Regions from separate parts of the Homo sapiens genome. Here regions 1 and 2 are each linked to region 3. Evidence: promoter capture Hi-C in 16 types of primary human blood cells and fetal thymus (Javierre and others, 2016). All regions are on one chromosome and are shown on one strand. Each heading gives the region's core, a stretch centred on a gene start or on the middle of the fragment in contact. The rest is flanking DNA. Distances are from core to core; before and after follow the strand shown.

Region 1 (4,009 bases), core at 1,246-3,745, 270 kb before region 3:
GTGGTCTCTGGCCTGGGTTTGTGGACCACTGAGGAATATGCATATTTTTGGGGAGACTAAAAAGGTTAAAAACCACTACTCGAAAGCTTAACTGCCATCTCTAATGTATATGCATAATTATGCTTTGCTAGGATGGGAAGAAAGGACACTAGTGAAAGAAATGTGGACGGGTGTGTCTTCAGGTATATTAACAGGTCCAGAGCATGGAGTCCCCAGCAGAAAATGCACAGATGCCATTGCAAAAGGCAGGAGGCGCAGAAATGAACGTGATCCACCAGTAAGTAAAAACAAGACATGTAGGTTTGCTCTATTAGTCAGTCATTCCTGTGCTCTCCTGTCCTCTAAGGTGAGATAGGTCGTGCTGCTGATACCCTTACAGAAGTACGTTTTAATGTCCTAGGACTACTGAAACAAAGTACCAGGAACTGGGTGACTTTCAATAACAACTTTATTCTCTCATGGTCCTGGATTTTAAGATGTTCAAAATTAAGGTGTGGGCAGGGCCATGTTCTCTCTGACACCTTTAGAGAAGAGTCCTTCCTGGCTTCTTAGCCAGCATTGCCCCTTGGTTGCCTGCAGTCCTTGGTGTTTCTTGGCTGTAGCAACATGACTCCGATCCCTGTCTCCATCCACACATGGCCTTCTGCCCCATATATCTTTGTGTCTTCACAAGGCCTTCTTAGAAGGATACTAGTTGTTGGATTTAGGGTGCACCCTAATCCACCCTGGCCTCATCTTAACTAATTACATCTGCGAGGATCCTATTTCCAAATAAGGTCACCTGAGGTTCTGGGTTGATATGGTTTGGCTGTGTCCCCACCCCAATCTCATCTTGAATTGTACTCTCAGAATTCCCACGTGTTGTGGGAGGGACCCGGTGGGAGGTAATTGAATCCTGGAGGCGGTTTCCCCCATACTGTTCTCATGGTAGTGAATTAGTCTCACAAGATCTGATGGTTTTATAAGGGGTTTCCCCTTTTGCTTGGCTCTCATTCTCTCTTCCCTGCCACCGTGTAAGACGTGCCTTTCACCTTACACCATGATTGTGAGGCCTCCCCAGCCACGTGGAACTGTGAATCCATTAAACCTCTTTTTCTTTGTAAATTACCCAGTCTCAGGTATGTCTTTATCAGCAGCATGAAAACAGATTAATACATGGGTAGACATGACTTTTCGTGGGATACTATTCAGCCCAGTACAAGGCATCTTTGTGGACTCTGCTACATTCTGCGGGGTTTAAGGTTGCAATTACGGAATAAAATGGTGGGGAGAACTAGTTACAAAGTGTGGAGAAGACAGGAGATGGGTCTTCAGAAGTATTTGGTTAGGTATTAATAGGAGTATAGAAGAACGTTAAAATGTCATTCTCTTAAATACATGTAAATTGCCTTTGCAGTCAAGATACCAAAAGCTCTAGATTAGGAGTGGGGAACGAGGTCCCTGACCCCTCTGCTATTCCCTTCTTGGTACAACTCCTTAGTTCTGCATTCCTGATTTAAGAAACTGTGAGCTTCGCCGGCCGGGCGCGGTGGCTCACGCCTCTAATCCCAGCACTTTGGGAGGCCGAGGCGGGCGGATCACAAGGTCAGGAGATTGAGACCATCCTGGCTAACACGGTGAAACCCTGTCTCTACTAAAAATACAAAAAAATTAGCCAGGCGTGTTGGCGGGCGCCTGTAGTCCCAGCTGCTGGGGAGGCTGAGGCAGGAGAATGGCGTGAACCCGGAAGGCAGAGCTTGCGGTAAGCCGAGATCGCACCACTGCACTCCAGCGTGGGCGACAGAGCGAGACTCCATCTCAAAAAAAAAAAAAAAGAAACTGTGAGCTTCAAAACAATCTTCTCCCACCCTAATTGTAAACAGATACATCTAACTTTTATGACTTAATAAAGGGAGTATCTTGGAATAGTCATATGATATCAGCCCAGAGAAAATGTCTTCTTATTTCTCATCTGAATTATAAAACTGATTTATATAGTATTCATTGTATGCAGTTGCAGTAACAATGGCTTCATGGTACTGGCTAGCCTAGTTTTACTTCCTCTGTACAGAGCTGAGTGAGGGTGAGAATGAGGAAAACACCTCTCTATCTTATGAAGGGGTCCTAGGATCCTAGTGAGAGGGTTTCAGTTGGATAGGCTATTTCAGGCTTAAAGCAGGCCCAGAATTCCAGGGAACCATGAAGCAGGTTCTCTGAGGGCACTCTGAGGGGATTGTAGTTGCTAAGAGGGGCCTAGACCAACTAGATCATGATTATTCTTTCTCAGTCTCTCAAAAAATGCAATGAATATCCCAGAACTTGGCTGGCTCTTTAAGGACATCTTGCTTACAGACAGAGTGTTTTCCAAGTAGCTTTCTGCCTGCAGAGGCATCCACAAACCTAAATTGGAGACTTTATCTACCTTGGGTCCCTCAAAACCCTGGGAAATAGGACCAGAAAGAACCACAGGCTGTGGTGTTGGTTACAGAAAATGAAAGGATCCAAGTTATCAAAAGTGGGTAACAAAGCAACATCAAGAAACTGTGTCCTTAAAACTAAGAGAATATACAAGACATTCTAATCCACATGGTTCTTAGGGTGAAATCTAGCCTCTGGGCAGGTAAGAAATCAGGGTGTGAGTCACCCCTCTTTAGCTGGAATGACAAGAGACTCAGACCATAACTCTAGAGATTGAAGGGTTACCCACACCCGCATTCCTTTTCATGCCTCACCTATCCCAGGTATGCACTAAAACTACCGCTAAAAATAACTGCAGAAACTTGAAGTCTGGGAAATAGCACTGAACAGTCTCACCTGAAGTGAAGAGCTGATTGGTGCCAAGTGGAAAGGAGACAGGAAGAAAATGGGCTCCTCTGGAACCATGCAGTCTCTAGGAGGTGGGCCCCAAGGTCTGCTCAGAGTCTTGGAGCTTTTGTTTGCTCGTAGCCATCCATCCCCTTATACCATCCAAACACAAAGGATGTCTCCTGTCACTGTCACCCTTCAATCATCTGCCAGTGCCGTCAAAGAGGCCGGAAGGAGCAGGAGGAATTGGGAAAGGAACAGGTGGGGAAAGTGTAAGTCATCGGACTGTTCACTGTTGCTGTGTGACCTTGTGGGAGTTACTAAACCTCTCTGAACCTTGAGTTTTCTCATTTGTTAATATGGAAAGAAGACCGTCAAGCCTATCTCTGTCACAGAATCTTTTTTTTTTTTTTTTTTGAGATGGAGTCTCTGTCACCCAGGCTGAAGTGCAATGGTGCAATCTTGGCTCACTGCAACCTCCACCTCCCAGATTCAAGCAATTCTCCCACCTCAGCCTCCCAAGTAGCTGGAATTACAGGCATGTGCCACCATGCCGGGCTAATTTTTGTATTTTTAATAGAGGCAGGGTGCCATGTTTGTCAGGCTGGTCTCGAACTCCCGACCTCAGGTGATCCATCTGCCTCGGCCTCCCAAAGTTCTAGGATTACAGGTGTGAGCCACCACACCTGGCCTGCCTCACAGAATCTCGAACCTAGTTTTTAAAATTCTGTTTCTTTCCTCCTTCCCTTCCAGTGTCCACCATATCCTAGCCAGTGTGCCAGATACTAGGAAACCAATACTGAAAAAAGAGTCAGATGCTATTTTTGCTGAACTTAGCCTTAGTATTGTATAGTGATTGTGCTTCCTACTAGGCAGGGACCGCGCCTAATTTGTGGATATTACTAATATCATACAGGGCCCATACGCAGTAAATGTTCAATATCTGTCATTTTCTGAAACCTAAGATGTGTCAGGCGGCTTGACCTGTATTATTTCTAGTTCTTTGAACAATCCCGAACAGTCGATATTATTGTTCCCAATATGAGCTATGGAGCCAGTTTGCCAAATCGGCCCCTGACTAACTGTGAGACTTTGGACAAGTTGTTAAACCTTCCTGTGTTTCAACCTTCTTATCTGAAGACACACAGTTATAGTACAGCATTGTGAAGTTAAATGAACTATACTGTGGCTCATGATAACAATCAGTAAGTGTTAGTCATTATAA
Region 2 (4,284 bases), core at 743-3,242, 310 kb before region 3:
CAGGAAAGAAAACTTTCCCGTAAATCTCTGAGGGACTTCACCTTGCAAGCCACCGATCTTGACCATGCAAGGCAGGCTGGGAAATGTAGTATTTTTAGCTGAGAACAACGCTGCCCCTAATATACCTAAGATTCTCTTGGTAAGAAAGAAAAGGAGGGTGATCATTAAGTAGGGGGTCCAGCAATTTAAACAAAAAGCCTATTGTGGTTGCGGCAGCCAGTTGGGGACGACTACTCTGGAGACGACCTCACTATCTCAGTGCCAGCTGCACCTTGGAAACATTCCTGGGTCTGGAGGCTGCACTGTTAATAACTGTACAACCAAAAAAGGCTGTGTTGGCAGGCCCCTGACTGTTTGCAGAGGCCAGCCGCAAGCTGGGATCCTATCTTTGCTGAAGCATATGGTATTCCTGTAGTAACAAGTGTCCTTTTAGTTAATTGCAATAAATCTCTTGTTGAGTTGACAGGAGGTTGGGATGTTACTTTTTGCTCCTGGCAAACTCATAAGAGGGAAAGTAAACCCTGCTGTGGTCTGGAATAGGACAAAGAGTGAGCCCTTAGATCTGAAAACAATCTCTTAGCAACCAGAGAGCTGTTAGGAGAGGGGAAATCGTGCTGATGAAGCGAGACCCATCGTCCAGGAATGCACATTAGGGGTCCTCAGCACCCCCAAACCTGACTAGCATTAGCACCGGGTTGTGGAGAGAAGGCCCTCTAATGTGGTCTTTGCCTGCACGCATAGAGATTATCTATATGAAGCTACATCTGCAGAAAATGATGTTTAATCCAATTTTGTATTTACACTAAAACCCCAGAGGTGGGAGGACAGGCAGGCCTGTGACCTGATTCCCCCTGAGCTTTAGCCATGGGTCACGGCCAAGGCATCTGCCTCCCTTACACACAGGAGCAGCCAGATCCTGGCCTCCTCCAGCATTTGTGTGAATACGGTTGCCAAATTCACCAAAATAATTATAACTGGGAGAAGCTACACAAAAAGGGTAGGGGTGATGTCTAAAGTCTTTCTTTTAGGCGAAACTTCTTTTTCTACGCTCCCCGGTTGATAAGCAGACATTTCTTTCTGCCCTCACTTTTTATTAAAACTGCACTCTCAAAATATCATTTAAAAACAATATTTTTTTCAGTGCTTAAATAAAATGACATTTCAATAATATTGAACATACATGTGGGATATTTAACAATAACAATAGCTAACATTTATTGAGAACTCACTAGATACTCTTCTAAGTACGATTTGACCTGTATCATTTCATTTACCTTACAAAAATCTTATGGTGTGCACACTATAATTACCCTATATTATTAGATAAAGTAAGGAATTTGAGAGGTTGCATTGCCAGCATGAGGTGCCCCAGAATTTGAATTCTGGCAGCCTGACTCCAGAGTTATGCTCTTAGCTATTCTTTTCCTTTTTTTTTTTTGGAGTCTTGCTCTGTCACCCAGGCTGGAGTCCAGTGGCATGATCTCAGCTCACTGCAACCTCCGCTTCCTGGGTTCAAGCGATTCTCCTGCTTCAGCCTCCTGAGTAGCTGGGATTACAGGCGCCCACCACCATGCCCAGCTAATTTTTGTGTGTGTGTGTATTTTTAGTAGAGATGGGGTTTCACCATGTTGGCCAGGCTAGTCTTGAACTCCTGACCTCAAGTGATCCACACACCTTGGCCTCCCAAAGTGCTGGGATTACAGGCATGAGCCGCTGTGCCCATCCAATGCTCTTGGCTTTTCTGATTTTTTTTTTTTAGACGGAGTTTTGCTCTTTTCGCCCAGGCTGGAGTACAGTGGCATGACCTCAGCTCACTGCAACCTGTGCCTCTCGGGTTCAGGCGATTCTCCCACCTCAGCATCCTGAGTAGCTGGGATTACAGGCGCCCACCACCATGCCTGGCTAATTTTTGTATTTTTGGTAGAGACAGGGTTTTGCCATGTTGGCCAGGGTGGTTTTGAACTCCTGGCCTCAGGTGATCTGCCCATCTCAGCCTCCCAAAGTTCTGGGATTACAGGTGTGAGCCACTGCGCCTAGCCAATCCTAGCACCTTGGGAGGCCGAGGCAGGTGGGTTGCTTGAGTCCAGGAGTTAGAGACCAGCCTGAGCAACATGGTGAGACCTCATCTGTACAAATAATTTTTAAATGAGCTGAGTGTGGTGTTGCACACCTATAGTCCCAGCTTCTCAGGAGGTTGAGGTGGGAGGATCACTTAAGCCCAGGAGGTCGAGGTTGCAGTGAACCGTGATTGGGCCACTGCACTCCAGCCAGCCTGGGGAACAGAGCAAGAACCTGTCTCAAAAAAAATAAAAACATCTCCTGGCAGTAACAGTCTCATCTAGGATGAGTAATCTTATGCCAGTAGGCTAGTCAATAAGAAAAAAATAAAATATAGCTTTGCAAGTCACTAGTATTTATAATAAACAGTGTGGGTGTGATTTGAAAGTTATAAAACTTTTGCTCTGATCATAAAAACCTATGTATGGGTTTTTATGGTGGCTGGGCACAGTGGCTCACACCTGTAATCCCAGCACTTTGGGAGGCTGAGGTGGGAGGATCAACTGAGGTCAGGAGTTCAAGACTAGCCTGGCCAACATGGTGAAACCCCGTCTCTACTAAAAATACAAAAATTAGCTGGGCATGGTGGCAGGCACCTGTAATCTCAGCTACTCGGGAGACTGAGGCAGGAGAATCGCTTGAACTCAGAAGACAGAGGTTGCAGTGAGCTGAGATCACGCCACTGCACTCCAGCCTAGGCGACAGAGCAAAACTCTGTCTCAAACAAAACAAAACAAAGCCTATTTACAGAATAATATTTTGTGATGCTCCCCCAAATCTCCCAAACATGGCAAAATTCTGGTGAACAAAACACCTGAAGAGGAAGGACATGATTTATAAGAACTTTTTGCTAACTGTAGATGCGCTGGAACTGAAGTTATCAGTAGAGATGACACAGACATGAATGAAGGAATTACTGGTCGAACAGGCCTATCTAGATCTGATTTTAAAACCTCAAAAAATGAAACTTCTTGGGGTCATTCCATTGAAACTACTACTGACCCTGCTTGTCAAATTTCTTCCTGTTGGGGTGTGTACTCAATTGCAGTCTAGTAGCTTATGGACTAAAAGTGTTGGAGGTATGTGGGTGAGTAGATAGGTATGAATAGGAATAAGATGTTGGGTATCATAAACTATTCAAAATCATAATGCTTTGTGGTTGATTTGAATTTAACATTGTCCCCTGAGGTTTTGCATAGCAAACACAGTTATTTAATTTTAATTCTTTCTAACTTCTCTGTAGCATTTGACTTTGCTGAATACCCAATTCTTTTTCTTTTCTTTTTTTTTTTTTTTTTGAGACGGAGTCTCGCTCTGTCACCAGACTGGAGTGCAGTGGTGCGATCTCGGCTCACTGCAACCCCCACTTCCCGGGTTCAAGTGATTCTCCTGCCTCAGCCTCCCAAGTAGCCGGGACTACAGGCTCGTGCCACCACGCCCGGCTAATTTTGTATTTTTGGTAGAGACGGGGTTTCACCGTGTTGTTCAGGATGGTCTCGATCTCTTGACCTTGTGATCCACCTGCCCCGGCCTCCCAAAGTGCTGGGATTACAGGCGTGAGCCACTGCGCCTAGCCAAATACCCAATTCTTAAAGCACCCTTTTTCTTGAATTCTGTGACACCAGCCTTTCTTATTTAGTTTCCTTGACAGCTTTTTTTTCTCCTCCAGTCTTAAGGTTCAAGTTTCCCTGAGCCTCAGACCCAGGCTGCCATTCCCCTGACCTTGTCACACAGCCCTTCACTGAGCATGTTCGTTTCCAGGGTCTCACCCGTCCTGGACTGGATGTTGGTATGGATGAAACCAGCTCCACGGCCGGGCGCGGTGGCTCACGCCTGTAATCCCAGCACTTTGGGAGGCCGAGGCGGGTGGATCACGAGGTCAGGAGATCGAGACCATCCTGGCTAACGGTGAAACCCTGTCTCTACTAAAAATACAAAAAATTAGCCGGGCGTGGTGGCGGGTGTCTGTAGTCCCAGCTACTCAGGAGTCTGAGGCAGGAGAATGGTGTGAACCTGGGAGACGGAGCTGGCAGTGAGCCGAGATCGCACCACTGCACTTTAGCCTGGGTGACAGAGCAAGACTCTGTCTCAAAAAAAAAAAAAAAAAAGAAACCAGCTCTAAAGGATTCTTTGGGGTCAAGTTGAATTTGGTGGGTATTATGTCAAATGAAAACAAATGAAATCATTGTCTGAATGAAAAAGGTTGCAGGAAGAGTGCACCAAAAC
Region 3 (3,923 bases), core at 113-2,612:
ACCTCCTGCAGATTGAGGCAATGGATTAAGTGTACTTTATACTTCTCAGGTACATATTAGCAACCAGACGCTCCCATATTCCCTCTGTGTCTCTCCTGGAAAACCACTGATAAAGAACAATAATAAAATTTATTCTAAGCCATGACTGGCTTTTTCTGTCATGTTCACATCCACTTCTTTGTCATCTATTCACTTGGGGCTGCTTCTGAATTAGGGAAGCTGCCTGAACCCACACTCCGATGGCTCTTCAGAACCACCAGCTCAGCTCTGCAGTCCCAGAAGTGCCTCTTAAGTTATCCTGTTCTTTCCTTTGAGATCCTAACTTCCAGCTGGTCAACAACATACCACATTGCTCCCTGTGTTGGAGTGTATGTACGTGTGTGTGTGTTTGTGTATGTGCTAGTTTGCTGGCTAATTGCAAGCTTCATTTTTCTCTCCTGAGAAAGGCAAGATATCTGAGAATGAACACCATTTGTTTTTTTAAGTAATCCTTAGAGCTGAAAGTTGGGAGGCTGGTCGTTTCTGAATGTAGGTCAAATGCTAAACAAGCCGCAACTTCTCTGCAGAGTGTGAGAGTCTTCCTGGTCTGGAAGGATCCCTGAAGATTCTGCTGGATTCTCTGAGACGAGAAAGAGCTTGACTGTGTGTTGTCCTTCCCAGTTCCAGATCAGAGCTGCCTTCCAGCAGGACCTTGGGGATGCCCCACTGTTCTCTGGCATAGAGCTTGATGTCTGCTCTTTCAGCTCACTGGGGTGACACACAGCTCTATTGTTGCCACCGCTACTGGGCCTTTACCAGGCTCCAGATTTTGGCAACGGGAATAATGCAGATGAAAGGAAAAAAGGAGAGGCATAGGGAGCCCTGGGAACAGAAAGGAGAAGGAAGATGATGAGACAAGGGAAGAAGAAATGGAAGTTTTAATGAAGGAAGATGAAAAGGTAATAGGCCAAGGTATGGACATACCAGTTTTATCTATGAAAACTGGGCTGAGTGACACATTTTCATTCCATTTTGTAGAACCCTATAGTGCATTTCCAAGCTCTTTACTGTGACCATGTGAAATACATGAAATTGATGAGTTAGTGTAACCTGTGTTACAAATCCAGCAGTAAAGATATGTGTATGAGATGTTCATGAGATTTCAAAATCACTGTACCTACCTCCTGGGTGAGGCAAACATTTTGAGTCAGTTGAGAGGGATCGCTCATTCACTCTTGCAGCGGGAAGGCAGAGAAGTTTCAGTTTATCTTCTGTTCTGTCTCAATCAGTTGGGTAGAATGAGTGTTTAGCGTGAGGATGAATCAGGTCCCCTCTTGCCAGCAGAGGGGTAAGGTGGTGTGTGGTGGATTGGAGAGGATGTCCTGAGGGCCAGACACCAGCCAGGGCGGGGTTGGGTGACCCGTGGGGTTTATTCTGTGATGTCACAACGGCAGTCAGGGGTCTCCCTGTTGCTCCCTCAGCCTCCTCCCATAAGGATTGGGGGGGGTCATGCTGGGTACCTACCAGTGGCTGGATGTCTTCTGAGGTCGTCCAGATCAGTGCTTATCTTATTGTGCATAAGATTCACCTGGGGAACTTAGTCAAGTGCAGATCCTGACTTAGTCAAGTGCAGAGTCTGGGATGGCTCTCACGTGAGTCCAGCCAGACCACACTGAGTTGTGAGACTCTAGACCAGTGCTGTCAAAGCAAAATGCAATGTGGGCAGCATATGTCATTTAAAATTTTCTGGTAGCCACATTAAAAAAAGTAAATTGGACACACATACTGTGATACAGCAATCATATGTTATACAATACTATGTTTAAAATGTAGCCCTCCCCACACAATAAAGTTGGGTTTAATGAAAAATATTTTATACTACTTTCATTTTAAAATTAAAATTTAGTGAATTCAAATTACATAAAATTAGAAATTCAGTTGCTCAGTTGCACTATCCATATCATAAGGGCTCCACAGCCACACATGGCAAGTAGCTACTGTATTGGATGGCACAACTCAAGGCCATTCCCTGAAAAGGTAACAATGTACAGAAATTACCATTCTAAAGGGCTAGTATCTGGAAACCCAGCAAACATTCACTAACATCATTTTAATGAATACATAATTAGTGTTTGGGGACTGTTAATATGGAGGCATAACTCTCGGAGACTGGAAGAGGGCCTCATCCAGGATTCCAGCTAACAGTCTGGATGGGGCCCTCTGCCCTGTGAAACCTGTCACACTCAGTCCTCCTCTGAGCTTTTGCCAGGGTTCCCCTCACTGGGATCCCTTCCTTCTCCTTGCTGCCCTGCCTAAATCTTACACAACCTCAGGGCACATGATTCCAGTCTCACTACCTTGTGGCTCTAGCCCTCCTTACTCCCCATTTCCTCTTTGCTCATACAGCATGCCTGCTTTGCTTTTGGTGTGTTAGTCTGTTTCTCTCGTGAAATTCTAAGCTGCTTGAGGACAGAATCTGGTTTTTTACTTCTATCGTGCTTAATATAGTGCCAAGGGCATAGTAGCTGCTCAAGAAATATTTATTATTTTATTTAATGACCTAAACTACCTAAGGAAGTATCTAAGAGAGAACATCGGATCTCGAAGTGCCAATAACTTCCCCAATGGAACAACATGCCTTATTTTTGGCACATCTTAAATTGATCAAGATGTCCGTTATAAGTTAATTTATAAATTTAATACAAATAACCATGAGTATTTTAAAAGACCAACACAAGTTGATATTAAAGTTTATATGGGAAAAAAATACACAAGACTAGCTAGGAAAACCCTGAAAAGGAAGAGCTCTGAGGTGGTGCTAGCCCTAATTGATATAAAGCATACTACAAAGCCTCTATGATTAAAACAACATGGCACATGTATACATATGTAACAAACCCGCACGTTGTGCACATGTACGCTAGAACTTAAAGTATATTAAAAAAAACAAAAAAACCAAAAAAAAACAATGTGGTACTGGTGCATGACTAGACAAACAGGCCAATGGAAGAGAACAGAAAGTCTAGAGATAAACACAGCTATGTATAGACTTCCAGTATAGGACAAAGGTGATATCTGTAATCACTGGGGCACAGATGATTTTTTTAAGAAATGTTGTTGGGATAAACTAGATAGCCATTTAGAAAAATATAAATTATATTTATTTAAAAATCATATACAAGAATAAACTCTAGATGGACTAGAGATCTGAATTTTAAAAATGAGATTATGGCCGGATGCTTAATCCCAGCACGTCAGGAGGCCGAGGCAGGAGGATAACTTGAGCCCAGGAGTTCAAGACCAGCCTGGGCAACACAGTGAAACCTTATTGCTACGAAAAGTACAAAAATTAGCTGGGCGAGGTTGTGAGCGCTTGTAGTCCCAGCTACTTGGGAGACCGAGGTGGGAGGATTGCTTGAGCCCGGGAAGTTGAGGCTGCAGTGAGCCATGATCCTGCCACTGAACTCCAGCCTGGGCGATGCTGGGTGACAGCGCAAGACTGCCTCAAAAAAAGAAAAAAAAAAAAAAAAGAGAGAGAGAGAGAGAGAGACATATGAATGACCCTAAATATATGAAAAAATGTTCAACTTCACATATAGTAAACATAATGCAATTTAAAACTAGAATGAAATATCACTTCTCATCCACCAGACTGACAAAATTATAAAGTTTGACAGTGCAATCTGTTGATGATGCTGTGGGGAACAGACGCTCTCACTCATTGCTAGTGGGAATCCCAAATGGTGTACCCCTTTGGTGAATTTGGCAATATCTAACACAACTGCATGTGCATCCCATCACCCAGAAATCCTACTTCTAGAAATTTACCCTGAAGATACACCTCCAACAATAGGCATGAAGCTATTCATTACAACATATTTGTAATTGTAAAATATGGAAACTACCTAAATAAGAATTGGTGGAATTAATTATGGTTCATACAC

What was found. The method cuts DNA at HindIII sites, captures the fragments that hold promoters and counts their contacts. A CHiCAGO score of 5 or more calls a contact.
Region 1: a contact is called between a fragment that was not itself captured here and the fragment with the promoter of GSG1 in region 3, in 1 of 17 cell types (naive CD4 T cells). The highest score is 5.5, in naive CD4 T cells.
Region 2: a contact is called between a fragment that was not itself captured here and the fragment with the promoter of GSG1 in region 3, in 4 of 17 cell types (naive CD4 T cells, naive CD8 T cells, total B cells and 1 more). The highest score is 7.3, in naive CD4 T cells.

What each region holds. Positions count from the first base shown.
Region 1 is chr12:12,832,864-12,836,872 of GRCh38, forward strand. No RefSeq gene overlaps it. Among named protein-coding and RNA genes, the nearest start is that of DDX47, 22 kb to the left of the region's middle. RefSeq lists an enhancer at 2,024-3,223. The HindIII fragment of the contact is 4,823 bases long and covers 85-4,009 here.
Region 2 is chr12:12,791,790-12,796,073 of GRCh38, forward strand. No RefSeq gene overlaps it. Among named protein-coding and RNA genes, the nearest start is that of APOLD1, 8.3 kb to the left of the region's middle. The HindIII fragment of the contact is 8,759 bases long and covers 1-4,284 here.
Region 3 is chr12:13,102,305-13,106,227 of GRCh38, forward strand. It overlaps GSG1 (germ cell associated 1), which reads right to left and starts at 1,363. Exons shown (of 7, transcript NM_001080555.4): 1 at 1,161-1,363. The coding sequence starts at 1,208. It overlaps LOC105369666 (a long non-coding RNA gene), which reads left to right. Exons shown (of 2, transcript XR_931369.3): 2 at 1-142. The HindIII fragment of the contact is 5,406 bases long and covers 421-3,923 here.